Linked DNA regions of Homo sapiens: region 2 is linked to region 1. The links are contacts of gene promoters, found by promoter capture Hi-C in human tissues and cell types (Jung and others, 2019). All regions are on one chromosome and are shown on one strand. The core of a region is centred on a gene start or on the middle of the fragment in contact, and the rest is flanking DNA. Distances in the headings are between cores, read along the strand shown. Region 1 holds the start of SPATA6 (spermatogenesis associated 6). Region 2 overlaps AGBL4 (AGBL carboxypeptidase 4).

Region 1 (7,233 bases), core at 20-2,519:
GTTCCAAACTCCGTACAGGTCTGTGCCTGCAGGACTAAAACGGGGTGTGGAAAGGGTCTTGTGGAGATTTCCTCCAGAACAGACAAGCGGGAGTATTCCTCTAAACAGGGGAATGAGAGGGTTCTCTAAAGAATGCAGGGGAAGAAGTTCAAAACCCTTGGAAGTCTTCTGAGATCAACAAGGGGAATAGAGTTTTCTCCTAGCATGGAGAGGTCCAGCCCCTTCACTGGATGAGTGGGGTTCTCTGCCCCAGCTGGACTTCCACAGGAGGATGGAGGAAAGCATCCTCTTGAGCAAGTCTGGAGAGTGAAGGGGTGGGGTTGCAAGGTTGGAGAAGGAGGTGTTTCCCTCATAAAAATGACTGGGCCTTTCTTGCAATGGCTGGCACAAAGTCGGAAGGGTCTGGGGACGGGAGGGGCCTGAAGTGATTTCTGAGGAGTTGGGTTTTTCCTGTAAGGCCCTGGGAGGGAAGGCAAGGTACTTTGCGCAATGACACATTTCAGTTGTTGGATGTGAAGATTCTCCTTCGAAGACAGAATAAAGAAAGGCCCCTTCATTAATGCGGGTTTGAAACTGGTCTGAAATGGTGTGCCTGCAGGGATTCGGGAGGAAATGCGACGCCCACCCCCAGACTTGGGAAAGGCGGGGGCAATAATTCTCTAAGAGAACTGGAGCCCGAAAGAGGAATGAAAAGCCCCCGCGCCGCGCACATACACTCTCTCTCACTGGAAAGTTAGGAGCGAGGAAAGAACTCTGAAGTGATTTGGGAACGATCTGAAAGCGCGCAAGTTGGAAGTCGGGTTGAAGCCAGCATAGCGGAGCAGGGGTCAGGCCTCTGCGTGGCCGGAGTGGGAGAGCGCTTCTGAGAACAAGATGGGGCAGGACCGAAGGGGCGTGAGGTCGACGCTCCCTAGGGATGATTCGGAGGGTGAAGGAGGTTTGGGGGTGGTTCCGGGCTCTCGGAGGTGACTGAGGGAGTCCCTGAGCCAATGCCCGGGGGTGGGAGGCGCTACCGGTACTCACTGAGCTGATCTCCAGCGCCAGGGCGCACTGCAGCGCCTTCACCTTCGGCATCCGTGCGGGGAGGGGCGGCGGGGAGTGACCCCGGCCACGGGCCCGAGTGAGGCGGGGAGACCTGGGGCTGGGCGGGGACGGGGAGGAGACGAGGTGGCGGCGGCGGTGGCAGCAGTGGCCCCCAGGCCGGGGCCCGCGGTCCAGCCTGGGTTCCGCCGGAGAAGCAGCTGAGCGCGGGGCGCAGACTCGTTGTCATGGCAGCCAGGAGGGGCGGGGCCGGAAGAGAGGCCGCGCGGGGCACTCCAGGGCTACCCGCGCTGGGACGAGCGCTGGAGGCGGAGCTTGACGAACGCCGAGCGAGGCGGAGTCGGGCAGGGGGCGGGGCTTCCGAAGGGGCGGGGTGAGGCAAGGCAGCTCTTCTGTGACGTCAAACTGCGCCCAAAGCCGGACGAAAGGGAGCTGCTGTTTGTATAATGGGACGGTGCTCTGTTCAGGGAGTTGGAGTTCCTGTAAGGCCGTCGGAGGGAACCCCTGAGTTACAACGTGGTGATGGCACCTTGGGCTAGTGGCGACCCACTGTGGCCTCAGTTTTCCCAATTGTAAAAGAATAATAATTATTGTTAGTCCTCCTATTTAAATTTCACGGCACGGTTTACAAAGCCAGCATAAGGATACTGGGAATTAGGGAAGAGACTTGCCCAAATCAAAGTCGGAACCAGGACTGGAACCCAGGAGCTCTCAAGTTAAACCCCAGTTGCCTCCCTGAGGAGAGGGGCTTGCATCAGATGGTCCATACTCCTAGTCTCCTATTCTGTGATTCCCTTTGTTAGCGCGTTCCCTTTTCCCTTCAAATTTTCCTGTCTAATTCACCCATGTATGCGTCTTAATGCATATTGCTTAAGTGGAACTGTCAATGAGGTGCCAACAATAAGTCCAGCTGTGAAGGGCCTGACAATAGACCATCAAAGATAAAAAGAACCTAAGAGATTGCCCAATCCAATCATGTTAAAAATCATTTGTATTGCAAAATACATTATACATGCAGAAGTGTATAAAACACGTTTATCTTAATAATAATGTGAACAGTACCTGTACAACTAGCACCCGGTTAAGAAATAAAACATTACCAGCACCTGAAAAATGCCCCCAACGATTACATTGCCTTTCTCGCCCTGGAGTAACCACTACCCTGACTTTTGTACAATAATTCTCTTCCTTTTGCCATTCATGTATGCATTTCTAAACAAGATATTGTTTAATGTTTTCCGGTATTGATAGTATATAAATGGTATTAATACTGTATGTATTCTTCTGTGATTTGCTTCTCCCACTTAATATTATGCCACCGGTGATGCTGTGTAGCTGAAGTTTTTTCCATTGCTGGACAGTATTCCAATATAGATTGATTTATCCTTCCTACTATCAATGATCACTTACACTGTTTTCATTTTTAGCTATTATTAACAATGTTGTGAACATTGTAGTACAAGTCTGTGTCTATTAATGCACATGTACTAGCGTAGGAGTGGGTTAGCTGGGTATTAGGGTTTTGCACATGTGGGTCTTTAAAAAGTAAGACCACACCATTTTCCAAAGTAGTGTACCTATTTATGTTTCTGGTGCTTATGTATAAGAGTTCTTATTTTTCCACATCATCAGCAACATTTGTGTTTGGATTTTTAACTTTTGTATATTTGGATGTGTGTATTTTAGGTATTTCATTGTGGTTTTATCTTGAATCTCTGGGTACTGTTGAGGTTGAGTACCTTTGGTTTTGTTAGCCTTTCCATTATCTCTTATTGAACTGCCAAGTAGTTATCTTGCCCCCTTTTCTGTTGGTCTCTCTCTCAGTTCTTTATATACTCTGGATAATAATTATATGTCTACTCTATATGTTGCAAATATCCTTTCCACTTTGTGTTTGTATTTTAATTTTACATATAGTCTGTGATGAACAGAAGATAAATTGTTGTCATGGAGTATGAGTATTCTCAGTTTGACCATATAATTCCAAGTTGCTATCCAGAATGCCATACCAGTCTATGCTCCCAATATTCGAAGGTTACTATGGCCCCACATTCTTCCCAGGCTTGGCATTATCAAGGGTTCTTGTTTTCCCCCAACATAACAGATGTAAAGTGTTATCTCACTATTGAATTTTTCAGATTACTGATGAGTCTGAGCATGTCTGTATATGCTTATAAGATTTTCTATCTTTACTAAAAATCATCTGCTCATAATGCTTTACCCCATATTCTATCAGGATTTTTGTCTTTTTTTTAGGAATTTTGTGTATTCTGGTTAGTTAATAAATTAATTCTAAGACACTACAAAAATCTTCTCTCTTTATGGTATTTTTATGAACTTTGCCCAGGATTTTGTTTTGTTTTGGGGTTTTTTGGGTGTTTTTTGTTTTGTTTTGTTTTTGACAGGGTTTTACCCGTCACCCAGGCTCTGGAGTGCACTAGCACAATCTCGGCCCACAGCAACCTCTGCTTACCCAGTGATATGGTTTGGCTGTGTCCCCACCCAAATCTCATCTTGAATTGTACTCCCATAATTCCCATGTGTTGTGGGAGGGACCTGGTGGGAAATAATTTGAGTCTTGGGGGTGGTTTCCCCCATACTGTTCTCATGGTAGTGAATAAGTCTCACAAGATCTGATGGTTTTATCAGGGGTTTCCGCTTTTGTATCTTCTTGTTTTCTCTTTCTGCCACATGTAAGAAGTGCCTTTTGCCTCCTGGCATGATTCCGAGGCCTCCCCTCCCTGTGGAACTGCAAGTCCAATTAAACCTTTTTTCCTTTCCAGTCTTGGGTGTGTCTTTATCAGCAACATGAAAATGAGCTAATACAGTAAATTGGTATCAGTAGAGTGGGTGTTGCTGAAAAGATATCCGAAAATGTGGAAGCGACTTTGGAACTGGGTAACAGGGAGAGGTTGGAACAATTTGGAGGGCTCAGAAGACAGGAAAATGTGGGAAACTTTGGAACTTCCTAGGGACTTGTTGAATGGCTTTGGCCAAAAGCCTGATAGCCACATGGACAATAAGGTCCAGGCTGAAGTGGTCTTAGGTGGAGATGAGGAACTTATTGGCAACTGAAGCAAAAGTGACTCTTGTTATGTTTTAGCAAAGAGACTGGGGGCATTTGGCCCCTGCCCTAGACATTTGTGGAACTTTGAACTTGAGAGAGGTGATTTAGGGTATCTGGCAGAAAAAAATTCTAAGCAACAAATCATTCAAGATGTGACTTGGGTGCTGTTAAAGGCATTCAGTATTATAAGGGAAGAATAGCATAAAAGTTTGGAAAATTTGCAGCCTGATAATGCGATAGAAATGGAAAACCCATTTTCTGAGGAGAAATTCAAGTTGGCTGCAGAAATTTGCACAAGTAATGGGGAGCCAAATGTTAATCCCCCAGACCATGGAAAAAATGTCTCCAGGCCATGTCAGAGGGCTTCACGGCAGCCTCTCCCATCACAGGCCCCGAGGCCTAGGAGAAAATGGTGTCATGCGCTAGGCCCAGGGTCCCCATGCTGTGTGCAGCCTAGGGACTTGGTGCCCTGCGTCCCAGCTGCTCCAGCCATGGCTGTAAGGGGCCAACATAGAGATAGGGCTGTGGCTTCAGGGGATGCAATCCCCAAGCCTTGGCAGCTTCCACATGGTGTTGAGCCTGCAAGTACACAGAGTCAAGAACTGGGGTTTAGGAACCTCCACCTAGATTTCAGAAGACATGTGGAAACACTTGGATGCCCAGGCAGAAGTTTGTTGCAGGAGTGGGGCCCTCATGGAGAACCTGTGCAAGGGCAGTGAAGAAGGGAAATGTGGGGTTGGGAGCCCCCATACAGTGTCCCTACTGGGGCACCACCTAGTGGAGCTGTGAGAAGAGGGCCACTGTTCTCCAGACCCCAGAATGGTAGATCCACCAACAGCTTGCACAATTCACCTGGAAAAGCCACAGACACTCAATACCAGCCTGTGAAAGCAGCTGGGAGGGAGGCTGTACCCTGCAAAGCCACAGGGGTAGAGCTTCCCAAGACCATGGGAACACACGTCTTGCATCAGCGTGACCTGGATGTGAGACCTTGGAGTCAAAGGAGATCATTTTGAAGCTGTAAGATTTGACAGCCTCGCTGGACATTGGACTTGCATGGGCCCTGTAACTCCTATGTTTTGGCCAATTTCCCTCATTTGGAATGACTGTATTTACCCAATACCTGTACCCAAATCATATCCAGGAAGTAAATAGCTTGCTTTTGATTTTACTGGCTCATAGGCAAAAGGGACTTGCCTTGTCTCAGTGTGGACTTTTGGGTTAATGCTGAAATGAGTTAAGACTTTGGGGGACTGTTGGGAAGGCATGATTGGTTTTGAAATGTGAGGACATGAGATTTGAAGGGGCCAGGGAAAGAATGATATGGTTTGGCTGCGTCCCCACTCAAATCTCATCTTGAATTGTACTCCCATAATTCCCACATGTTATGGGAGGGACCCAGTGGGAGATAATTTGAATGATGGGGGCTGTTTCCCCCATACTGTTCTTGTGGTAGTGAATAAGTCTCATGAGATCTGATAGTTTTATTAGAGGTTTCTGCTTTTGCATCTTCCTCATTTTCTCTTGCCGCTGCCAAGTAAGAAGTGCCTTTTGATGAGTTCATGTCCTCTGCAGTGACATGGATGAAGCTGGAAACCATCATTCTCAGCAAACTAACACAAGAACGGAAAACCAAACACCGCATGTTGTCACTCATAAGTGGGAGCTGAACAATGAGAACACATGGACACAGGGAGGGGAACATCACACACCGGGGCCTGTCGGGGGGTGGGGGGCTAGGGGAGGGATAGCATTAGGAGAAATACCTAATGTACCTGATGGGTTGATGGGTGCAGCAAACCACCATGGCATGTGTATACTAGCTATGTAACAAGACTGCACGTTCTACACATGTATCCCAGAACTTAAAGTATAAAATAAAAAAAAGAAAAAGTTCCTTTTGCCTCTGCCATGATTCTGAGGCCTCCCCAGCCACGTGGAATTCTGAGGCCTCCACAGCCATGTGGAATTGTAAGTCCAAGTAAACCTCTTTTTCTTCCCAGTCTCAGGTATGTCTTTATCAGTAGCATGAAAATGGACTAATACACCCTAGCTCAAATGATAATCCTGCCTCAACCTTCCAAGTAGCTGGGACTACAAACGTGCACCATAGCGCCTGGCTAATTTCTGCATTTTTTGTAGAGATGAGGCTTCACCATGTTGTCCAAGCTGGTCTCAAACTCCTGGGCTCAAGGGAACCACCCACCTCGGCCTCCCAAAGTGGTGGGATTACAGGCGTGAACCACTGCACCCGGCCATTAGGGTGTACTTTCGTTCATAGAAGTAACCTAACTTCGATGTAAATCAATCATTTTTGCCTTATATTTGTGTTGTGTTTTTAACATTTTAGTAAGTCTTCCCAAAATTAGCTGGGTATGGTGGCTCATGCCTGTGGTCCCAGCTACTTGGGAGGCTAAGGTAGGATTGCTTGAGCCCAGGAGGTGGGGTCTGCAGTGAGCGATGTTTGTGCCACTGCACTGCAGCTTGGGTAACAGAACCCTGTCTCAAAATAAACAAACAAATGAACAGTTTTCCTAGTCCCCAGATTCAAACATACTGTATTTTCTGTTTTCTTATATTAACTTTATAGTTTACCTTTCACATTTTGATGTTTAATCTATTAAGACTCAATTTTTGTACATGACGTTAAACAGTAATCCAGGATTCACTTTCTTGTTGTTGTTGTTTTCCCCTTTAAAAATGTATGCTAGATTTTCCAACAATACCTACTAAACATTCTATGCTTCCCCTCATTGATTTGTGGTGCTACCTTTCTTATGTATTAACTACCAAAGTTCTGATTTCAACCTTGCTCTTCTGTTCCAGTCTTCTATTTGTCTATTCTTGCAACAGTACCACACTGCTTCTATTTATTACTATGGCTTCTGTTTGGCAAGTCTCCTTTTTTAGGAGATAGATTTAGCTATTTGTGATCCTTCATTGCTTCTTTTTATTTTAGAGTAATTTTATCAAGTTCCTCAAATAGTCCAGCTGGAATTTTGACAATGATACATTAAACTTATAGATTAATTCAGGGAATTGACATCTTTGTAATATTATGTCATCCCACCCAAGTGCATGGAATATATCTCTTTTTTTTTTTTTTTTTTTTTTGAGATGGAGTC
Region 2 (6,992 bases), core at 2,425-4,924, 58 kb after region 1:
GCTGAGTTGGAGCTTAATTCTGTAAGTAAAGGAAGCCATAGAGGAAATCTGAGCTGTGGAATGTCTCAGAGAGGTTGAGGCTTTGGGAAGATAAAGCCATAATTAGGATTCAGTTATCAGGGTGAGGTCAGGATAGAATTTTCGATTTGAGATTTTGTTCATTCTTTCTTTTATTCTGCTGTAGTTACTGAGTGCCTCTGACCTGTCTGGAACCATTAGGTTCTATGGGAGGTGTGAAGACAAATAAAACCTGAACTTTGCCCCCAAAGACATTAAATGATAGTGGGGGAGGTGACAATCAGCTGAGTGAAATAATTAATAAACAGGCCTGGCGCAACAGCTCACGCCTGTAATCCCAGCACTTTGGGAAGCCCGGGGTGGGTGGATCACGAGGTCAGGAGATCAGGACAATCCTGGCCAACATGGTGAAACCCTGTCTCTACTAAAAAAATACAAAAATTAACTGGGCGTGTTGGTGCGCGCCTGTAGTCCCAGCTACTCAGGACGCTGAGGCAGGAGAATTGCTTGAACCCAGGAGGCAGAGATTGCAGTGAGCTGAGATCGTGCCACTGTACTCCAGCCTAGTGACAGCAAGACTCCATCTCAAAAAAAAAAAAAAATTGATAAACAGATGAATAAGCAAAGTGTTAGGGCAACCGAGAAAAGAAAGCAATTAATGACAACTGCTAAGACTGGGAGGATATCATGAAGTTGGGACACATGAGCTAAGTCTTGAATGATGAGAAGGATTTTCTTAGTTAAGAGGAACAGAGATGTTGGCTGGAAATTAGAGAGAACAAGCAGGAATAACCAGTGGGATTTGGCAATTGAACAGAAATGGGGCGTGAAAGACACAAAAGTCGGATGATATCCAGGCTCCTGGCTTGGACAGTTAATTTGAAAGAAGTACCATAAAATGGGGTCATGTTTTATGGAGCTCCTGGAAGCTTCTAAGCAGGGAATGGGTTAACAGGAGAGCATCTGGAGACAGGGAGGCCATTCCAGCAATCCAGGTAGGAAATAATGGTGGGAGTGGCTAGGAGGGAAAGCATGGAAAGGATAGAGGGAGGGAAATGCACAACAAACCTGCCAATAGGCATTATTGTCCCATTTTAGAGATGGGGCAAGTAAACTGCTCTAAATGATTTATAAGATGATTAGCAAGCGGTGGAGCTGAAATTAAAATTCAGGTCTATCTGACTCAGAGTCACTCCATAATACTACCTGAAGGCAGACACACCAAAGAGGCAGAAGCAATGGGACGTGGTGGTTGGTCAGCTGTGTGGGGAGAAAGACATAAAGGAGTTAAGGCAAGGGCAGGGCTTCCAACCTGAGCAATTAGATGGAAAAAGAGAATATTAACCAAGGCAGCTGATGCCAGGGAGAGAAGCAGATTTGGACTTAAGATTGACATGGGGTCAGCTAAAAATAGATCCCAGGTCTTTAGGGGAACAAGTAAATTTTAAGCACTAAGGAGTTATAATAGGCATCATTAGGATGACTTTCTGACTTGTTCGGGCTTAGTGTCGAGGTCTGGGGCTGAACCGAGAGACAGAGAGGTGTGGTAGAGTTGTGTTTGTATCCAGGGTCCACATCCTGTCCTAGTTACTTACTGGCTGTGGACCACGGGCATGAGATTAATCACACTAATCTGAATTTCTTCATCTGCAAAGTTGAGAAAATAAGCCCTGACCAGCACACCACCTGAATTTGGTGTATGAAGACAGATATGTGAGTGCCTTGGGGGAGTCCTGAATTTCAGCTGGCAGAGAAGATCTGTATGATTACTTCATAAAGATGATCCCTGAGATGTTGCATGCCAATCAAAGTAACATAAAAAAAGTTTTGTATGTATCCTGGTAAGATTTGTTTGCTATGATTTTGACAAAACATGGTATCTTGTAGAATCTATTTCCCCCTTCTCTTTTTAGTCTAGTTATTTCAGCCTCACATGAGGCTGGGTGAATATCATGTTCAACACTGTCTTCCCATTTGTTCAGAGTCCCAACTTCCAAAGCCTCTTTCCCCTCCCTCAAGGGTTCAGGGTTTTTGGGTGACCTCACTCTCACCATACCCACTATTTATTCATTCCACACTCAGTGAGCACAGACTCTGCTACGTAATCTGTGTTAAGTGCTAAGACTACAGAGATGAATAAAACCTAGGTCCCTGGCTTGACACTGATCCCTCAGTGTGACTGCCTTTCTTCTGGACACTCCTCTCACTCTTGTCCTCTACTCAAGAAGCATTTGTACTTCTGTCTGTACGTCATCTGGGGAGAAGAAAAGCTTTGGCTCTAGAGAAGGGATTTCCAACTCTAGCAAGCAGATGAGAGGCAGAGCAGGGGTGAAGATGGCTTGAGAAAAGAGTTTTTCTCAGTTCCAGGTATTTTATAGATGTTATTATATTCAATTCTCACCATAAATATAGGAAGTAGATATTATTCAGTTCATTTTACAGATGAGGATCCCGAGACTTAAAGAGATTACATTATTTGCCCAAAGCCATACAGCTTAACAGAAGAGCTGGGATTCACACTCAGGTTGGCCTGACTTTAAACTCGGGCTGTTCCTATTACGTTATGTCTCCCCTCTGCTTTGTGGCCCTGATGCCCCTTTGGCTGAGCTCAGCCAAAAGGTACCAGACTTCTTTAGTGCTCAGAAGGCAGGAACTTAGAGGAAGAATTCCGAACAAGAAATGAGGGACATAGTAGGCTTATTTCGCATACCCCAGATGGAGGAAGTGATAGGGAACCAGAGCTAGATTATCTGCTTGGGGCCAGTAACCCAGAGAGTGTCACGATGGGTCCAACAACCCTGCTGAGATTCCAGGGGCCCTCTGCATGTCAAGGGATAAATGGGCCCCTTGCCTAAACGCTGCTCTCTGGAGGACTCTGGAGTGCCTAGAAGAAGGTCAGACAGGTGTGTGGGAATGAGAGATAGGAAGAAGGCAGGGCTTCAGCAGCAAGTGCTAAAAAGTCCTGAAATCATTACACATTTTTCCCAGCCTGTAAACTTAACATGCTTCCTTCCCCTCTCCCTATCCCCCACTACCTCTAAATGATGCCATTGTTTACTTGTTATTCTGCTTTAACCTGTTTCTTTTTTTGACCTGATTTTACCTGGAGACAAATGGATAAGGCCCAGCACAAAGTAGTGGAAGGGGAGCAGTGTTTGAATCCAGGTTCTCACTAGCCACATGGGTGTAAAAAAAAGGTGTTTACCTTTAGGGTTCTCATTTTTTCTCATCTTCGAAGTGTAGAAAATGATACTTACCTGATAGGACTGTTGGGAACATTGAATAAGGCAATGGATACAAAGGGATCTAGAACTACACCTGACACACAGTATATGTTCAGTAAACATCTGGATGTATGAATCGATGCTGCACAAATGTTAATCAGCTTACACTTCCATAGTTGGCTCTGTTCTTACTATGTAGAAAAATGAGTTGGGTTCTCTAAGGCAGGTCTCAGGTGTGTCAGTTGAGTTACAGTGAAAGGATACTAGTTCTTTCTGTGTTTACCGCCCCGCCTCCATTTAAAAGGCAATAGAAAAAGCTTCTAGACAAAGGCTCACTGTTGGCTGCCGCAAAGCAAACATTATCACCAACCTCCTCTGCTGGGGGCTTAGCAACGAAGAAACTGGGTAACCTCCAGTTTGTCTGCTGCAGCTTGAGGGTAAACAGACTTTTAGTCCTGTCTCTGCACCTCTGAACTGATACAGAGCAAAACTAGCACTGCATCAGTATGGAGAGTTGTGTGAGAGCCAGGTTGAGACCTGTCATGATCCCTCTCCTTCTCACCCCTACTTTTTGCATAGTTGTCTGTCTCCTTGGAAATGCACAGAACACTGCTTTGGTGGCCAGCTCCACCCACCTGTGGCTCTAATCTGAGACAGACCTGGCTGGACAAGAAGATAGGCTGGTGCGCCCCCTGCTGGAGCCAGGTGGGCTAGTAGCCTCTGGCGGGTTGTACACCTCTTGGTGCTGTCCTCCATCTCAGTGCTGAAAACCTTTCCCCTCTAGCTTGAGGTCATAGGTATAACCTTGTTCAAGAAAGCTAAGGAGAAGCTAAGCAGGCCAAGACCACACAGAGGGCTGCTGACAACCCCTGGGCTCTTGCTCAGTCCTTTTTTTCTGCTCTGCCAATGTGGAAAAGCAGACAGTCATCTTGCAAACACACCCTCCTACAGGCTGCCTTATAGCCAGCTTTTTTTTTTCTCTCTCTCTCTCTCTCAAGGAATGGGAAATTTTATCAGAGTCCATATATGCTGTAATTCAGAGACAGTTCATATCACTGTGTCTAGCATTAAGTACTAACTATACTGTACACTCCATTTGCTGACATCCAGAAATGTAACATCCTGTCCCATGTCATTTCAGTCCAGAGAAATGACATGAGGTGATGCTTCGGAGCATTCAGCTTCCAACCCAGCATCCCCCTAGAGAGGGAGTCCCCTCTATTTCCTCCCAGACAGATGTTCGTTCAGATTCTTCTTGCACACCTGTGGTGATGGGGAGTTCATGGTCTTCCAAAGGAACCCATCCAGTGGTTGGCAATTCAATTCACTAGAAGGTTTTCCTCATCCTGAGCAGAAATCTGTCTTACTGAGACTCACTCCCTGGATTTGGTTATTACCTCTCCAAATCCAGGAGAGGTAATAAACTTGTTTGGCAGCACAGAACAAGTTTGCTTCTTTTGTCCAATGATGTCTGTTTAGCTTTTTGGAGACTGTGATCTTTCTTTCCTATTCCCACTCCCTCTTATTATGTATGTATGTATGTATGTATGTATTTATTTATTTCAGCCAGAGTCTCACTCTGTCACCCAGGCTGGAGTGCGGTGGCATGATCATGGCTCATTGGCTCACTGCAACCTTCACCTCCCAGGTTCAAGCAATTCTCCTGCCCCAGCCTCCTGAGTAGCTGGGATTACAGGTGCGTGCCACCACGCCTGGCTAATTTTTGTATTTTTAGTAGAGACGGGCTTTCTCCATGTTGGCCAGGCTGGTCTCGAACTCCTGACCTCAGGTGATTCTCCCGCCTCAGCTTCCCAAAGTGTTGGGATTACAGGTGTGAGCCACCGCACCCGGCCTATTTTTTATTTTAAACAATAAACTGCTCCAGTCTCCTCATTCCTTTCTAATGGGGAAGGATTTGCAGATACCTCACTTTCCTAGTCATATTCCAAATGATCACAGCTACCATTTAGTGAGCACATAAATATTTTTGCCTACATTTTCCACACGTAAGTTCATTAAACTTTCATAACTATTATAACAAGGTAGATATTACTATGACCATCTTTCAGGTGAGGAAACTAAGATCTAGAGATGTTAAATAACTTGCCTAAGATCACACAGTTTTATTAAAGAAATAGAAGTAGGGTTTGAATGCAGAATTAGAACCCAAAGTTGCCTGGCTCCAAGTTTTTGCTCTTAAATAATCATTATACCTGCTGTTTGTGTAGTCTATGATCCAATTAATCAATGTAGTTTTAACTATATGGGCCAATATGTGATCACATTATGGAAGTGACCTGGCCAAGGAAACATGGATCTAGACTATTGCCTCTCTCATCTTATGCAATCTGCCTCTTTTCATGCTATCTAAAATGATGCTATCATTTCCAAAAGGCTGATACACTCTTGGTGCATGCCAAGCTGGTTGCAGTCAATTAAACTCCCCAGGACTTTGACACGGGAACTGCTGGAAATCAAGACTTGACTGTTGTCCCTTATTTTGAAAACAAAGTCCCTGACCTCAAAGTCAGGGTTATATCAGTTTTGGGGTTTGCCTGTTGGTTCTTGAGTAGTGGGGACTGAAAGGGAAAGGTGCCAAGAATGCTCAGAGGAACAGAGGAGCTGCACAAAACACTTTATTTGTGTTCCTCTGGGCAAAACGAACCCAGGGGAGAAGCTGTATATACAACATGACATTTGTAGCCAATCAACATATGGCTCTTTGTCATCATTTCTGAAAACTAGCATGCAAAGGAGAACAAGTTTTCTTTTTGATTTTTGTAGCAAACTTCAATAATCTCCAACTCAAACAAACAAACAAACAAACAAACAAACAAAAAATGCTTTAGTGGAGCTCTGTGCTAAGGGATTTTCCTCCCTGGAGCCTCCCTTCCTCTCCCTGTGTTCTAATCCTCATTTCCGGGAGGTCATTTTAATTAGCAGGCTGTCATGGTGACTCAGCCTGCTGTTTCCACAGACAGGAAGGGAGCAGACCCCCCTGGACCCATTCATCATACAAAGGCACTTTACTCTTCACAAAAATGCCAATATTTAGCTTGCCACACCTTGGGAATTGCTACTACTGTTTTATTTTATCATTCCTCCCTGCCTCAGGGTGCATCCTTCTGTCTTTTGCATCTTCCTTGCCTGGCAATCACCCTTTCCTCATTGCAGATTAGCAATGCCTACATCTTCAGGGGCCAGGCTTAATCCCTGTCACCTGGGATCTGGAGACCTTAACCATAATAAACCTTTTAAAATGAGTGACCAGTGCTTTTTGTCTTTAGAGCTAAAATTTTAATTAAACTACCGAGGAAATTGGGAAACAGCTCTCAAAACAGTTTTCTAAATCTGCATGCTGGGGTTTGAGGGAATCAGCAAGCATGCAGCTTAGATACAGTGACCATATATTTAAGTCCACCGTTGATTTCAAAAATTCTGTCCCATTGTTCCCTAGGATGCATTTGCCCTTTGGTTGCATGTGTTGTTGCTGTTGTTTTGGATCAGAAAATACAAACACTGCATTTCTAAAGCTGTAAACAACCAAGCCTATTTAAAAGGTAACCATCTGCAGTAACTATAAAACTTAAAAATGTAAAGTGGCTTTGAAAGAACTGACCTGATATGTGTCAAATCTCTTAAAAGGGATGTGTAGGTTTTCCTCATCTTGGAAGATCTCTATGTTGTAGAAAATAGCATCTGTGCTCACCTGGTTCCGATCTCCTATTTTGTTCCTGAGCTTTTTGAGCT

What was found. The method cuts DNA at HindIII sites, captures the fragments that hold promoters and counts their contacts. A contact is called where the count stands out against the background at its distance.
Region 2: a contact is called between a fragment that was not itself captured here and the fragment with the promoter of SPATA6 in region 1, in 1 of the 25 tissues and cell types used here (mesendoderm cells).

Annotation. Positions count from the first base shown.
Region 1 is chr1:48,470,935-48,478,167 of GRCh38, forward strand. SPATA6 (spermatogenesis associated 6) reads right to left here and starts at 1,270. Exons shown (of 13, transcript NM_019073.4): 1 at 1,024-1,270. The coding sequence starts at 1,074. LOC124904175 (a long non-coding RNA gene) reads left to right here. Exons shown (of 2, transcript XR_007066074.1): 1 at 1-18. RefSeq lists a silencer at 952-1,341 and an enhancer at 1,552-1,601. The HindIII fragment of the contact is 25,705 bases long and covers 1-7,233 here.
Region 2 is chr1:48,526,989-48,533,980 of GRCh38, forward strand. AGBL4 (AGBL carboxypeptidase 4) reads right to left here. Exons shown (of 14, transcript NM_032785.4): 14 at 5,866-6,992. Among named protein-coding and RNA genes, the nearest start is that of SPATA6, 58 kb to the left of the region's middle. The HindIII fragment of the contact is 7,029 bases long and covers 161-6,992 here.